Linked DNA regions of Homo sapiens: regions 2, 3 and 4 are each linked to region 1. Evidence: promoter capture Hi-C in 16 types of primary human blood cells and fetal thymus (Javierre and others, 2016). All regions are on one chromosome and are shown on one strand. Each heading gives the region's core, a stretch centred on a gene start or on the middle of the fragment in contact. The rest is flanking DNA. Distances are from core to core; before and after follow the strand shown. Region 1 holds the start of EPHA7 (EPH receptor A7). Region 2 overlaps LOC107986623 (a long non-coding RNA gene). Region 3 overlaps LOC107986623 (a long non-coding RNA gene). Region 4 has its middle 450 kb from the start of MIR4643.

Region 1 (3,471 bases), core at 328-2,827:
TAACATTGAAGAAATGTTTCAGAAACTACAGAATCAAAGAGGTTTAAAGAATAAATTTCATATCTCTCTTCCATGTTATTTTATTAGGCAAATAAAAACTACAGGAGACAATTTAACATAAAATACAAATAAATATCTGGGGGTTGTCATCTTAGAGAACTCCCTACTATAAAAAGCAGAAACAACTCAATTTACTTTATATTTCCAGATAGAAAGGTTGGAAAAAGTTTGGAGCCTTATGTGAGATCAAACTTTGGATCTATCGGAAATAAAAGGAAATCATAAATGACTGAGAAATATTTTTAAAGGAAGAAATTATAGGACAAAAAAAGAAATTCATCTTAAACATGTGATCAAGTTACTCTGTGTGACCTTTGAAATTGAAGATTTGGCAATTAAAATTTTAAAGTTCTTCCTCTTATTACCTACCTCTTGAATACAAAGTGTCCGAAACTGCCTAATGGAAAACAGATTTCTCTACGCAGCCTTCCTTGCCGTTCGGGTTGAATGAATTCAACTGGAGATATTGGTTATGACTTTTTTTATTCTTAGTTTCTCTTTGAAAGATAAGCATTGAATAATTCCTGAAAATGGTAAATACTTGCGAAGAGAAAGGTCTTGCTTTATGAATTTAATACGTAGTGGCATTCTTTAAAATTCAGTGTAATTTATGCAGCGAAATGGAAAACTATCAAAGTGGAGGCAATCCAAGGAAAACCTTAGAAAATGATAAACGCGTAAAAAAACGATACGCAACCATCAGAAGGTTCTCTCCTAATGTCTCACTTCGCTCAACAAACTATGGTGAAAAGACAGGGCGGAGGAGAAGGGGCGCTTAAAACAAAAGACTTCCTTTCCCACTCCCTTTTCCTCTGTTTCTTTTGCCAGAGCTTGTTGCAAACTCTTGGAAACATTGTTTAAACATAATACACTTGGTTACTTTATTCTTTCAGGGATTGTGGTGGGTGGTACCTAAAACTGACGGCTCTTGGAGTAACAGAAAAAGAGAAGTAGAAACTTTTCAAAAAGGCAAAAAACAAAGTTACCCAGCCCGCGGAGGTTCTAACAACAAAAAAGTAAAACACACTTTACTTAAAGGCACAGCTCATTTCACTGTCCGGGCTCCGTGCTTGGTAGCTGAGAGAAGGCTTGCTTCGCCTCTGGTTTCTAAAAGATCGCGCGGAGTACAGCTATAGAAAAGAGTGTAAGTTGGGAGCGTTATTCTCGGATTTATTCTGCTACGCGAAAGCTGCGGTTGCTAAAAGCAGAGCGTCCAAAGCAGCACACACCTCGGCTACCATCCTCGTTCTCCTCTGAACATCCAGCGCGAGCTCAGAACCTGGAGGGAATCCTGGACCAGCAACCTGACTCCGCTCGGCACCGATTGGCTCCTGCCTCGGACCCCGCCCCCGTGGCCGGGGCGGCCATTTCGCCGGGACCCGCCCCTTGGCCCTGGGAATCGCCTCCTGGCAGGCCGGCTGTGCCTGCCACTCAGCCCGAGTGGCGGAGGCTCTCAGCTCGGAGCCCCGCCCCCTCCCCCCCTAATTGATATTATTGGAGTGTGGAGCAAGCGGCCGGTCTGCAGTCGGAGACTTGCAGGCAGCAAACACGGTGCGAGCGAACAGGAGTGGGGGGGAAATTAAAAAAAGCTAAACGTGGAGCAGCCGATCGGGGACCGAGAAGGGGAATCGATGCAAGGAGCACAATAAAACAAAAGCTACTTCGGAACAAACAGCATTTAAAAATCCACGACTCAAGATAACTGAAACCTAAAATAAAACCTGCTCATGCACCATGGTTTTTCAAACTCGGTACCCTTCATGGATTATTTTATGCTACATCTGGCTGCTCCGCTTTGCACACACAGGGGAGGCGCAGGCTGCGAAGGAAGGTAAGGTGATGGGAAAGCAAAGTTTGTTCTGACTTATTTATTTAGATGTCTACCTGCACAAGCCAGCTCGTCCGCGGCGCTGCCGGCCGCGCCTCCGGCGCCGGGCGACCCTCCCCCGCCGGCTCCCCGCCCCCTCACCGCTGAGGCCGCTCCTGGCGGACCAGCGAGCGCGAACCAGGGCTGTTCCGAGCCGCCTACAGCCCTGTGCCCGGAGCCGTCCATCCGACGGGTGCGGGATTTCTGGCGCGGGCAGTCTGGAGGGCGTGAGCAGCAACGGGGGTGGGGTGGGGTTGGAGGAACTGCCGGCGAGCTTATTTCTTAGTACCTCAGGCGGGTCACATCTCTCTCTAGCTCGGTCTTCCTTGTCTCCTTATTCGCCTTCTGTGGGAGCTGCGGCCAGAGTTGGGTTGGAGACTGGGAAATGCAGCCCCTACCGTCTCCGCCAGCCCGCCGGCGAGTGGCGGGAGCCCGGAGCCTTCCCAGAGGGACCGAGACTTCGATGAGCTCGGAAAGCTCGGGTTACTAATGAAGTGCTCACTGCGTCGGAGGCGGCGGCGCGGTCCTGCGGTTGGCGCTCGGCCGCCAGCACGGAACAATAACGCCGCGGAGGTGAAGCGCGGCGTGCGGCGCGCGACCCGAGGGCCGGGGATGTCTCCATTCAGCGCGCGCTGCGCGTCGGGCCCAGCGGTCATGGGGGCAGCGGCAGCCCAGCGGGCTTGGTCGGGCCGTGGAGGCAGGGGGCGGGCTGGAGCTGTGCAATTTGTAAGGATGCCGCCTGGGCGACTCAAAGTCCCCAATTATTTGCCCCATAGTGCAGCAATTGAGGAATCCGAGTGCCCAATCCTTGCCAAAGACCTGAACCCTGAGGGTTGGTTCTGGTAGGAGAAGGCAGGTTTTATTTGGCAAGCTGTTACAGATACGCCTGTATATGGTTATGTTTTCCTTCTTTGAACCTTTGACAGAAGGTAAAATACCTTTCGGTGCCTGTAGTTGGAGCTGGGGAAAAATAAACCCTGTCAATGGAAGTCTCTTGCTTTTGAGCAGTGTCACAATCCCATCCCCAACCCCCCTCATCCCGTCGCCCCCCTGGTCTTTCAGGCTGTGTATCTAAGTTTCATTTTTCGATCTGTTAAAAGCAGAAGAGAAATAATTACTTATTCCTGATGTGTAGAGGGAGAGGAATCTGTTATGAAATTTAGGTCATGGTGGTTATCGGGCGGGGTGTTGAGGGGACTTACATATAGGTCCTTGATTCATCTATTTCTGAAAACTTAGTGCACCTTTTCTTTATTCTCATCGTGCACTCCTCTTAGTTCGCTCAAGCCCCCCTCAAACCCGGCGCCAAATTCTAGTCCTTCTTTCAGCCTGACCTTCTGACCCCACTTTCCACATCTGCAACCTGTATAGATGCTGAACCCATTCAGAGAACCCCGTGCCTCCAAGCTGGCGGTTACGCGTTTGCAGAAGGACGGACATCTGCTAGAAACGCACGCTCATCCCCTCCAAAACCACATTTCTACTCCCCTGACGTTAGCGATCAGAAACCTTCAGCCCTGGCATACTGTGATTCCTCTGGAATA
Region 2 (3,471 bases), core at 332-2,831, 2.5 Mb after region 1:
TCCAGTTCTCTCTCTGTAAAAACTAAAATTATGTAGTCTCTGGTGATTCTTAAACTAAAAGGACACAGCTTGGTGTGGACATTTTATACATGTGCTCATTTTAAAAAATCAGATGAATAAGAAAAAACAACTTGCTGCAGAAATAACAAAGAATTAAGCTAGTATCCAACATGCATCAGAGAGACCCGGAAAAACAGTAGCTCCCTTGGTCTTAGACTTATTCTCCTTCTATATTCTGGCTATAGGTCTAAGTTCTGGTTACATTGTTTGCCCTTCTAATAATTCAATATATTTTTCCTTGCAGCTTGAGCTAGTTTGAATGGGTTTTGGCTATTTGCAACCACTCTCTCTCTGAAAAACAGATTACCTAGTATATGTAAAATATTTGAGGTATTTTAAAGAGAAAGTTAAATCAATTCAGAGTATGAATAAAGGTGGTCCCAAATTTTAGGTTCAATTTATGCTTTTGGCAACTTCAACTTTAAGAGAAATTCCACAAAGGTAAATCCCCTTGTCCGTGCACTGTGTGTTTGCAGGTAGTTAAGTGCAGGTCCTTAGCTTTAGCTATTTGGACATTAATGAAAACCATTCAAATGATTCAATACAGGCAGAGAAAAATGCAAAACAGTGATAGGGACTATATTTTTAAAGCATTATCTCAGACAGACCTATGAGTACTTGCCACCAGAGTGATCCTTCTAAAACCCTAAACTGATCGTGCCTTTCCTGCTTCAAATCCTCTTATAGTGCATCATTTATTTTAATAGAAAATGCAAACTTATTGGTTTAGTGCTTACCTACTTCCCCAATCCCATGTCTCACACTCAGTTCCTCACATATACCTTACAAGCACTCCTCAGTCTTTCAACACAGTATCCCAACTCTAGAATAAAATGAACACATTATCTTGGGGTCTAAGGGCATTGCCAAAACTGCTCTTGCAAGCACAAAATTTATATGAAATACTCATGCTTGGTTGCATAAATTTTTACATTCTTTTCAATAACATATTCAAATATTTTGAGATATATTTCCCAAGAATTGAAAATCCATGAGTTTTAAGATTGTCTAATTTATTAACTATCCCTGATGTCTGTTAGAGTGCCTAGCACAGATTAGGTCGTCAATAAATATTTGTCAAACCAATAAAAAGTAAATTTTGGGGGGTAAATAAGGTCACATCTATTCTGTGGCCTTACATACTCCTGTAACACAAGTTTGTCTGACAGCTTGAGAAGAAGTGCTCTGGTTATTCTGAGTTGTATATTTCCTGACTCATTCCTACACACTCTTCAAGATACCATTAACTATCATCTATTGGGAGCCTTCCTTGCCTTCCTGAGGAGCACTTCTCCTGTGCCCTGTAAGCATCTCTAGCATAAAATGCAGTATACTGTACAGTAATGATTTGTCTACTTTGCTATCTTCCCTACAAGATTAGAAACTCCCTTAGGTTGTGATCCATGTTTTGTTCCCATCAGTAGCTCCAGCACCTGGCCCATTGAAGGTTTGCATGAACATGGTGTTGAATAAATGAATGAAAGAGTCAATGATTCAGATCACCTGGAATAAACACGTGGCTGCCACCATTATACTTTTTTGTTGGTCACCACTAAATGCAGATATCAGCAGTATGAGACATGGTAAAACCTGGGATATCCCTCTGGCTGATCCATCATCTCTTACCTTTCCTTTAGAAAAACTGAGTAGAGGATGAAGTTATATAACCAGAACACTTTAGATGCAGACACAATAATTTTTAAACTGTGTTTGTGCCAAGAGCCACTATACACTACTATTTCTTCCATGCTTATAGGGCTTATAACAAAGTAGTCATGAACTAACAAAACACTGATGCCCTAAGAACAAAAGTGCAGCCCTCTCCTCTGATCTATTCCTTCAGCTGCTTGGCCTGTTACTCAAAGAGGCCCAGTTACCACAGCCAGAACCTATACCCAGTTGTGACCTGTCATAAAGGAGTGTCAAACTTTATTCTTAGCACAACTAAGTATTTAAATATGTTGGAAAATTAAACACTGATGAATTAATCTGACATCCCAAATATTTATCTTTTGCTTTAGAAACACCAGAGGGAGAAAATCAGTAGTTTATGCAGTATGGGTCATGAGTACATAGAATAAACAGCCAATCTCCAGTGCAGCTTGCACCCTTCTCAACAGCAGGAAACCCTTCCAGCATTACTGTGTCCTTTATAATCTATAACACTTTGGGGAATCTGGAAATTGTTTTGCCGCCAAAGCATATAGGGGGAAGGAGGGGCAACACGCCAGCACCTCTTAAAGCAAGCACAAAAGTGCCATTCTCTCATCCAGCAAAACAATGAGATTAGCTCTTTTATCACTAATTTTTTACTCTCCTTGCCTACTTTGTAAACACGGCATGGATGACTTTGCTCCTTATCAGCCGCAAACTGAATCTGCCTTTGTCGAAGCACTGTCAATCAGCAGCCTCTCTGTGCATACACTCAGTGATATACCCAACTGAAAAAAGACAGACTTTCAATTTCCCCGCAATAACAGAAAAAACATAAAAATAAACTGAATGAAAAACAGAAAAGACTCTTCTGTACAGTGTAATCTAGGGTTCATTTACTCTGCTAGACAGAATGAGATTAAAAACCAATGAAGGTCAAAGCTATTAACATTTGGATCAGAGGGCATTTTGCCTGTTAGGATCTAGTTAGACTGGGCCTTTGTAATTGCCCAGTTTTTTTCCAACATGTCATGTAAACACTAACATTAGCTAAAGCCTGAGTGGGCTCAGGCTCCACATAGGCAGCTTTATCTTTGATTAGCAGCAAAAACACGTAATTCTTTATATATCAATTTGAATGGTCAATGAACCTCTTCAGTTTTGCTAGTACCACTTGATTGTGACATTTCCAAATGGACCATAATTTGATTTCCCTTTAGAACCCTTCTGCTGTTCATTTTTTAAAGTATATGATTGACAGCTTCCTTGCATACTAGGCAACTTTGAGGGCCAGCACATTAGACTTAACAAAGAATGCCCTTGATCATCAGGAAAGACTAAGGAAATTTGAGTGCTAGTCTAGAAGATAACCTTTCATGATTAAATTACTGTCAACATACCATGAAACAGCTCCTTCCTCAAGCTCTGGCAGTAACATCTTTCCTTTGTTCTTATGTTTCCTGAAAATGAAAGCTGAACTGTGAGAGCACCTTCTAGACAAAACTTAGCACCCTCTACTCACATTGTCTATTCCCATTGCAAGCAAATAATGCATGGGAACTGTGTGTGTGACTTTGAATGCATGCCCAAGCCCTTCAAAAAAAGCTGAACAATATTTACATTTCTATCAACATTGTTACACGTAAAGGAAGCTTTTCCACCTTCCATGTCTCCATTTTCTTCTCTACCCACACAAACACCTCTGTCCTCATGTCTCAAATCCCCTTGAAGTCTTCCCTGACATCACTAAATATCAGG
Region 3 (3,471 bases), core at 592-3,091, 2.5 Mb after region 1:
TACAGCTGGTTGTCCCGTAGTCTCCTCAGCTCTCCTTCCTCTGAGTCTGGCTGAGTCCAGGGTTTTATGGGCCTCAGAGGGAAGGAAATGCACAGATTTGTCCGTGGGCAGCCATGGGCTGGCCAGGAAAAGGCACCACAAGTTCCCACTTCGGTCTGTAGGACTGGCACCCCAGCGTCCAGCCTTCAGGCCCTCTCTGGCATGAAGGTGGGGCCTCACCAGGGACCCACTCCCTTTGCCCAGAAGCCTGTCTGCCTCCTGCCACTGTCCATGGTGCCCAGGCTGCTCACGCCAAGGGGAACCTGCAGGCCAGCAGGTAGCCACACTTACACTGCCCTTGGGTTCCTCCCATACTCATCCATGCCCAAAACCTGGAGGGGCCAAGGCAGCATGGCGTTGGTGTGTCAGCAGTGCACCAAGTCTGTGCACACCCAGCCAGGCTGTGGCAGTGACTGGGCTCAGCCCCAACCCCACTCTGAGATTGGACAGGGCACCAGGATTAGGGAGAGGCCAGGCGGCGGGAGAAGACACTCCCCAGCCTGCATGGGAAAGGGGGGCCTTCCCAGGCACTCATGGGTGCAGACTGCAGAGACGCCCGGGTCCTGTGCCTGGGAAGGCAGAACTCCCATCAGCTCAGTGGAGCATGCGGGCAGCCCTGGCTACACCTCCTCCAGCCTGGGGCAGGAGCTCCAGGTTCTCTCTTAGGCCCTCTCTGCCCGCCCCTCCATGCCCTACCTTGCTGCTCCCGCGCTAATAGGCGGCTCCGCCTGGCCTCATTGCGGCGGCTTCCGGGGGCGGTGGGCTCCTAGGGGATGGCTCTCGCTTGTCCCCGGCTCCCGCTGGCTCCATGGAGCGCAGCACCACCCTGGGCCCAGCTCTGCCTCCTCGCTGCACCCTCCCCGCAGCAGCAGCCGGGGAGAGCAGCAACATGGGGCCAGGGTCCGAAGCAGCAGAGGGTCCAGGCCTGGGAGCAAATCCCGCCCCACCGTGCGAGGGTAGGGGCGGCTCAGTCAGCTGCATCGGGGATGTGGGGCACAGGGGACCAACCACTGCCATTGCTGCTCCTGCAGCCACCCCTGCTGCCACTGCCCACGCCTTCCCGGCTGCAGCCAGCGTGATGGCAGTGACGGCTCCAGATGGCCGGCAACTGCCATCAACACCAGAATGAGAGAGTGAATGAAAGCCCCTTCTGGTAGTTGGTCAGGATTTTTGCTGGCCTACAGGTAAAGTGCCTAACAAAAATCCCAAGCTAATTCCAGCCTGTCATAGATGGCTATCCCACAACAGGACAAAAGACCACTTTCAGGGTATACAGTATATTTCATCAAAATGTGCTCAATACCCATTAGAATAGTGTGGGTCATAAATAGTCATAGCTATTAGATAATGTATCATTGAAATTACATTGAAATTAATAATGATATTATAATATCATGTATATATTGAAACATGCCAAGGAAAGCAAACACATTTACCTATTTATATATATATATGTGCATATATATGTATATATACATGTATGTACATTTATATGTATGTATATTAAATTCAGTATAATTTGAAAGCTTTGAAAAGTACTTGAGGTGGCAAAGCAGAAGGATAGTAAATTAGTTTTTATTGACATTGGTAGATTTAGGCTACAGCTTGTTTTTTCATTCATTAGCCTAAAGAGAAAAATTACAAAATTATGCATAGTGTTTTATCTACAAAACAAATTTATAACTAAGTCGTCTAATGTTAAAACTGACGTTAAATGTCTTACATAAGTCCTCACAGGGCTAAAAACTTGATCTAGACTGAGAAAACATGTAGACATGAAGATAAAAGCAAGAATAGTACATTCGGTTTCATGTTGGAAAATATATCTACCTTAGAGCCCATGTTTCAATATCAGCTATGTAAACAAGTCTTTAAATCAATTTTATTCTGAATTCATTGTTGTATTCTGACCACCTTTAACAGACCTTCAGGAGATGTGCAATCTACTGGAAATGTGCACCAAAAGAACTTTGGTGGCAAAAAAAAAAAAAAAAAAAAAAAAAAAAAGCATGCTCCTCAAGTTCTCTCCTGTTGCTTTGGAGCAGACAGATGGACGTCTATCTTAGTGAAAAGCTTTAAGAGCGATTCCTATGAGACGCAAAAGCTGAGCATAGGGTTGAGAGCGGAGCCCCAGACACTGACCAATTCTAGCCCCCTACAGAGGACTTGTAGGACCTTGAACAAGCTACTTAACCTTTCGAAATCTACAATCTCCTTATCCTTAAGGTAAGGACAATAGTGCCTGCCTTTCGGGGCCATGAGGAGAAAATGAGATAGCACCTGTTAATCTCTCAGTGTCATTGTGGGCTGGCCTATGGAAAGCATGCAGGTGCTGGGTTTTCCTACCTGCTATAATTTTCATCATTCTTTAATTATTATTATATGCATCTCCCTTGCAAAAATGAACACATGTAGGTTGGGTAATCTTTGACATTTTTAAGTTAATTCTTACTGCGTTTGTCCTTTTCCCAGTCAGAGTTGTGTCCTGTGTTTTAGGGCTGAAAGCAAAAGTTGACTAAAACATCCCTGGGCCACCCCCTGGCTTTGGTTTCAAATGCTTAAATTCATAAAGGACTTTCTCAAAGACTTTTCAAGGTCAGGTAGAAAGTGGAGAATAGCAGGGCCTGTGTCTTTCTCCACAGTGTGTCCCAGGAACATCTCAGGACCACAGAAAGCAATTGCTTTGTGGTGCCCCAAGTGAAGCTGGTTTGGAGTTCTCAGGCTCAGCAAATATTTCTGAAACCAACCTGGCCTGGAACAAGAAGAACCACCATTTTTTGAGAACCATAATGACATCAGTGTGACCACTGTGACCTGAAAACAAGAGGGCGGTCTGTGAACATACTACTGCATATATTAGGTTGGTGCAAAAGTAATTGCTGTTTTTGCCATTGCTTTAATGGCAAAAACTGCAGCTACTTTTGCACCAACATAATAAAATTCCGGGCTTTTGTATCAATCTTCCCAGGAAGGGAGACATAGTAACGAAGGAGACTAAATTCCCTGCCACCCTGGTGTGGTGGGCACTCAGGATAACAGAAAAATAATACAGAAAAATACAGAATAATACAGAAAGATAATATGACATTTCTTGCACAACTGCATGTGTTAGTATACATATGCTCATATATGTACACGTGCACACACATTTATACATAAGGAGAAACATCCTGATTTTGGTAATTCTGGCAGATGATGGAATTCTTACTTTACAGACTGAAGTGAAAAGATGACAACAATAGCAGTATCTATTCTGTGCAATATCCATACAAACCAGAATTAAACTGATCTAACCTCCAAAAAATTTTCACCATTCACATTACTGCATTTAAAAATATCATATCTCAGAGGGCTCAGTAAGTTGATTGCTTATTGACTTTCCGGTGGGTCCATATAGTGTAATGAGTCTTTATATCTCTGTTTTTATATTGC
Region 4 (3,471 bases), core at 472-2,971, 2.3 Mb after region 1:
GCATAGAGTCAAGGACATAAACTCAAGCCAGGATGCCTGGATTCTCGTCTTTGCTCTGCCACTTACCAATTGTGTGACTTTGGGGAATTTGCATGAACTCACTCTTTCTCAAATTGCTTTTTTCTAGAAATGATCTATTTGTGTTATTTAACCTCCAAGCTCTGTTATTTTTGCTTTTTGTTTTATTAAGCTTATGCAGGTGGTAGGCTGCCTGAGGCCATGGTCTGCTTAGACTAAATCGTATCTTTTACTGGGCCTGGCTGAACTCTCTGTCTATGGGTCTGGGGTTAGGGATTTCATTTCATTTCCTTAAAATGAAGTGTAGGTGAACACTGTTCATTCAATGACCATGTGATGTTTTGTATAAAGCTGATGTCTACGGATGGTGGCCATTTGAAGTGTTTTGACATGTACCTATTATTTTCATTGCCAAAACAGTGTCCACAACATGATCTTCATGGGGTGGAGATTATGGATTTTATTGTAAAACAATGTTATCTTGGAGTGGTGTCTCATTTTTCTTTACTTTCCTTGATATTTCCCTTCTTCCTAAACTGAGGAAGTTACATCACATAGGCTCTCACCCTCAGCAGGATAGTTTCCAAATGGTTCATGTGGTGTGATGAAGATGTATATATAAATGCACACACACAAATTTATACATATACACACATAAACACACATACATATATGCATATTCATATGTCACCTCACCTTATTTTGCCCTGAAAACTTAATTTACCAGAAAGCACCCTTAATCTGTTGAAAGGACCACTCAACATAATCATAATCAGAAGAATCCAAATTCTGACACTGCAATCGCCCAAACTGGATTTTTTCCTAAATTCTAATACTCAGGTTTCTTTGTGATGAGTCATATTTACCCAAGATACACAATGGCAGGTGAAAAAAGGCTGAGAGAGTAAGTGAAGCTCAGCATTATGATGTTTCCCAACTGGTTGTTTCTTATATAATCTGGTGTAGGAGGAGAGCTCAGCAATTACTGTATTTCCTATGCTTATGAAACAGATACATATATATCTTACACACATACACATTCATGTGTAAATATATAGAATAAAATACAGCAGGTTACATAAATAATTAGAAAAGTAGGGACACAGGACTGAGGTTGTCTCTAGGTACCTAGCCCAGCTGCTTCAAACCAGCCACCACAGGATCAATTAGGGTATGACACCATCTCATCTTCAGTATAGCTACAAGGAACAAATTGACCACATGATAGTTCAGGATCATTCAGGATTTCATACACCCTTAGTCCATAAATTCCACAAGCCAGCATCCCTCCATACTTGATGTGTGTCTTTCCAGCCACTCAAACATAGGTGCAGAAACCAAGACTTGGCATACATTTGCTCATCAAAATTTGCTTAAGTCCAAGTTTGGTGACTCACGAGTCTCCTTCAACGAGTGATTCTACCTGATTTTACTGCAAAATAACATTGGCTTTAATTCGTTTCTATTTATCTACCATTAATTTCAAATAATTTTGCTTACATTTTATCTACAAGTTCATGAGATAATTTGCTACCTGAGATCTGCAAAGCGACTCTGTTTACAGCTATTATAAGCATGTCATTCTTCTAAAGCTTCACTCTGGAATATTATGACAAAATAGCAAGAACATAATTTTAACATACATAAAAATTATTACCATGCAGTTGTGCAAGTATGTCTTTCCTGTACTGAGGTCCACAATCCATTCTATTTGTGCATACTACATAAAGAGAGTAACAATTTAGCAGCCCTTTATTTTATTTTCCTGAAATCTATTGAGGAGGTAGGTAAAGGCCTCAACAATCTAAGCTTTGTGCTAAATATCTGCAACAGACCTTCTGCAAAAACTAGAACAAAATAATTAAGAAGTTATTTAAGCAACCATTTGCCACAAACCAGATTGAGGGATTTGAAATATGTACAAATATTTTTAAATAACCCTTCAAAGGGGAAATTTGTACTAATAAGTAAGGGCTGCTGCAGCTCCTGCTGCTGGCTCTGCATCCTGGGAGTACATATGAGACAATATAAACAGGTTCCAACATTTTTCATCTTCCCTATGGTATCTAAAGAAATACTCTGATTTTAACTGCTGCATATCTGGGGCAGAGCCTTTTCTAATAAGATTCCATAATCTTCACAGCACAATACTCTCTGTGTTAGAGCAATCCCACGACTCATAATTCCCCAGCAGTTAGTGTGCCAGGGTGAACTTCTGAGTCTCAGATAACATTAAGGCTGTGGTTTATGCCCTGATTGATAACATAGTCAATGGAGGCAACCTGTCCCAGAGAAAGGATCCAGAAAGCTTTGCATAGTGTTTACGATACAGATAACCTCCTGGCTGACATCTGTGGAGAAAAACCTTTGATGGATGAAAGAGGCTATAAGATCCTGTGCACCAGATAGCTCTGGTGAATTTCTCATGTATCACTCTTTAGACAATTATAGCTCTTTATTTCTTCTATTTGGTCACAAACGCTTAACTGATTTTTATAGCAATATGTTTTGCAGAGAATATTTGATAAATATAATGAAATCATTTTATGCTAGATCCCAGGGGATAGGCCAGGGGTACGCCGTTAAAAGACAATATTTCTTTGTTATACATATTAGGCCCTGTACTATTACTGCAGCCTGAGTCTCATTGGAATGTTTAAGAGCCTCCCACACCAATAAGTCCTCTAACTGCTCACTAATCAAAGTGTGGCCTGTGGCCCAGCAGCATCAGCACCCCCAGAGATCTTGTTAGAAATGCAAAATCTCAGGCCCCACCCTAGACCTACTGAAGCAGAATTTGAAGATTAACAAGATTCCTGGATGTTTCCATGCACATTAAAGGCTGAAAAGCACTCCACTATTGCATCTCAGTGCAAGTTGCAGCCACAGGCTGTCAGTAACCAACAGGAGGAGATGGGATGTGGTTACCAAGTGACCCAGTTCCTTTATATCCCTTTCCTCTGACATCCCTTCCATGGCCATTTGGCATTGACTAGTGGACTTAGGCTGAGATTGACATGGCTCAACTAGGACATGAATTATTTGTGATCTAGTAAACACACAAGGTTGTCATGCCTTGGAGAAAGGCAGAAAGGGAAAAAAATGCACTTGCAGAAAACCTGGGATAAGAATGTCCATGGTTGATGGAGAAAATCCTTAAACTGACACAGAGTAGCTTGCTGGGTATGGTATGCACAGAGCAGAACTTGTATACCCTGAAGTCTACCAGCTCCTCGGGTACACTCTACCTATAATTATAACTTTAGTCTACCATTATTCAATCCATCACTAATAAATTCCACTAGTCTCTTACAGAATATCCCAACTAAATGAGTTAGCTATTACATACGAAAGGCTAATACCACATACGTAAAGCAAAGAAAAATGAAAAAGAAGAAATAAAATATTGTTTGGACTTTGACCTTCTGGTGCACTGAAGTTTGTGGTTTTTAG

Evidence for each region. Contacts are between HindIII fragments. The CHiCAGO score rates a contact against its expected background, and 5 or more counts as called.
Region 2: a fragment that was not itself captured here is called in contact with the fragment with the promoter of EPHA7 in region 1 in 1 of 17 cell types (M2 macrophages); the score reaches 5.1 in M2 macrophages.
Region 3: a contact is called between a fragment that was not itself captured here and the fragment with the promoter of EPHA7 in region 1, in 1 of 17 cell types (M0 macrophages). The highest score is 5.1, in M0 macrophages.
Region 4: a fragment that was not itself captured here is called in contact with the fragment with the promoter of EPHA7 in region 1 in 2 of 17 cell types (M2 macrophages and M0 macrophages); the score reaches 13.5 in M2 macrophages.

The regions. Positions count from the first base shown.
Region 1 is chr6:93,417,665-93,421,135 of GRCh38, reverse strand. EPHA7 (EPH receptor A7) reads left to right here and starts at 1,577. Exons shown (of 17, transcript NM_004440.4): 1 at 1,577-1,891. The coding sequence starts at 1,795. RefSeq lists a silencer at 1,330-1,529. The HindIII fragment of the contact is 10,467 bases long and covers 1-3,471 here.
Region 2 is chr6:90,924,688-90,928,158 of GRCh38, reverse strand. All of the region lies in intron 3 of LOC107986623 (a long non-coding RNA gene), which reads right to left. Among named protein-coding and RNA genes, the nearest start is that of MAP3K7, 340 kb to the right of the region's middle. The HindIII fragment of the contact is 3,573 bases long and covers 1-3,367 here.
Region 3 is chr6:90,944,710-90,948,180 of GRCh38, reverse strand. The region is part of intron 3 of LOC107986623 (a long non-coding RNA gene); the gene reads right to left. Among named protein-coding and RNA genes, the nearest start is that of MAP3K7, 360 kb to the right of the region's middle. The HindIII fragment of the contact is 547 bases long and covers 1,568-2,114 here.
Region 4 is chr6:91,074,614-91,078,084 of GRCh38, reverse strand. No RefSeq gene overlaps it. Among named protein-coding and RNA genes, the nearest start is that of MIR4643, 450 kb to the left of the region's middle. The HindIII fragment of the contact is 217 bases long and covers 1,613-1,829 here.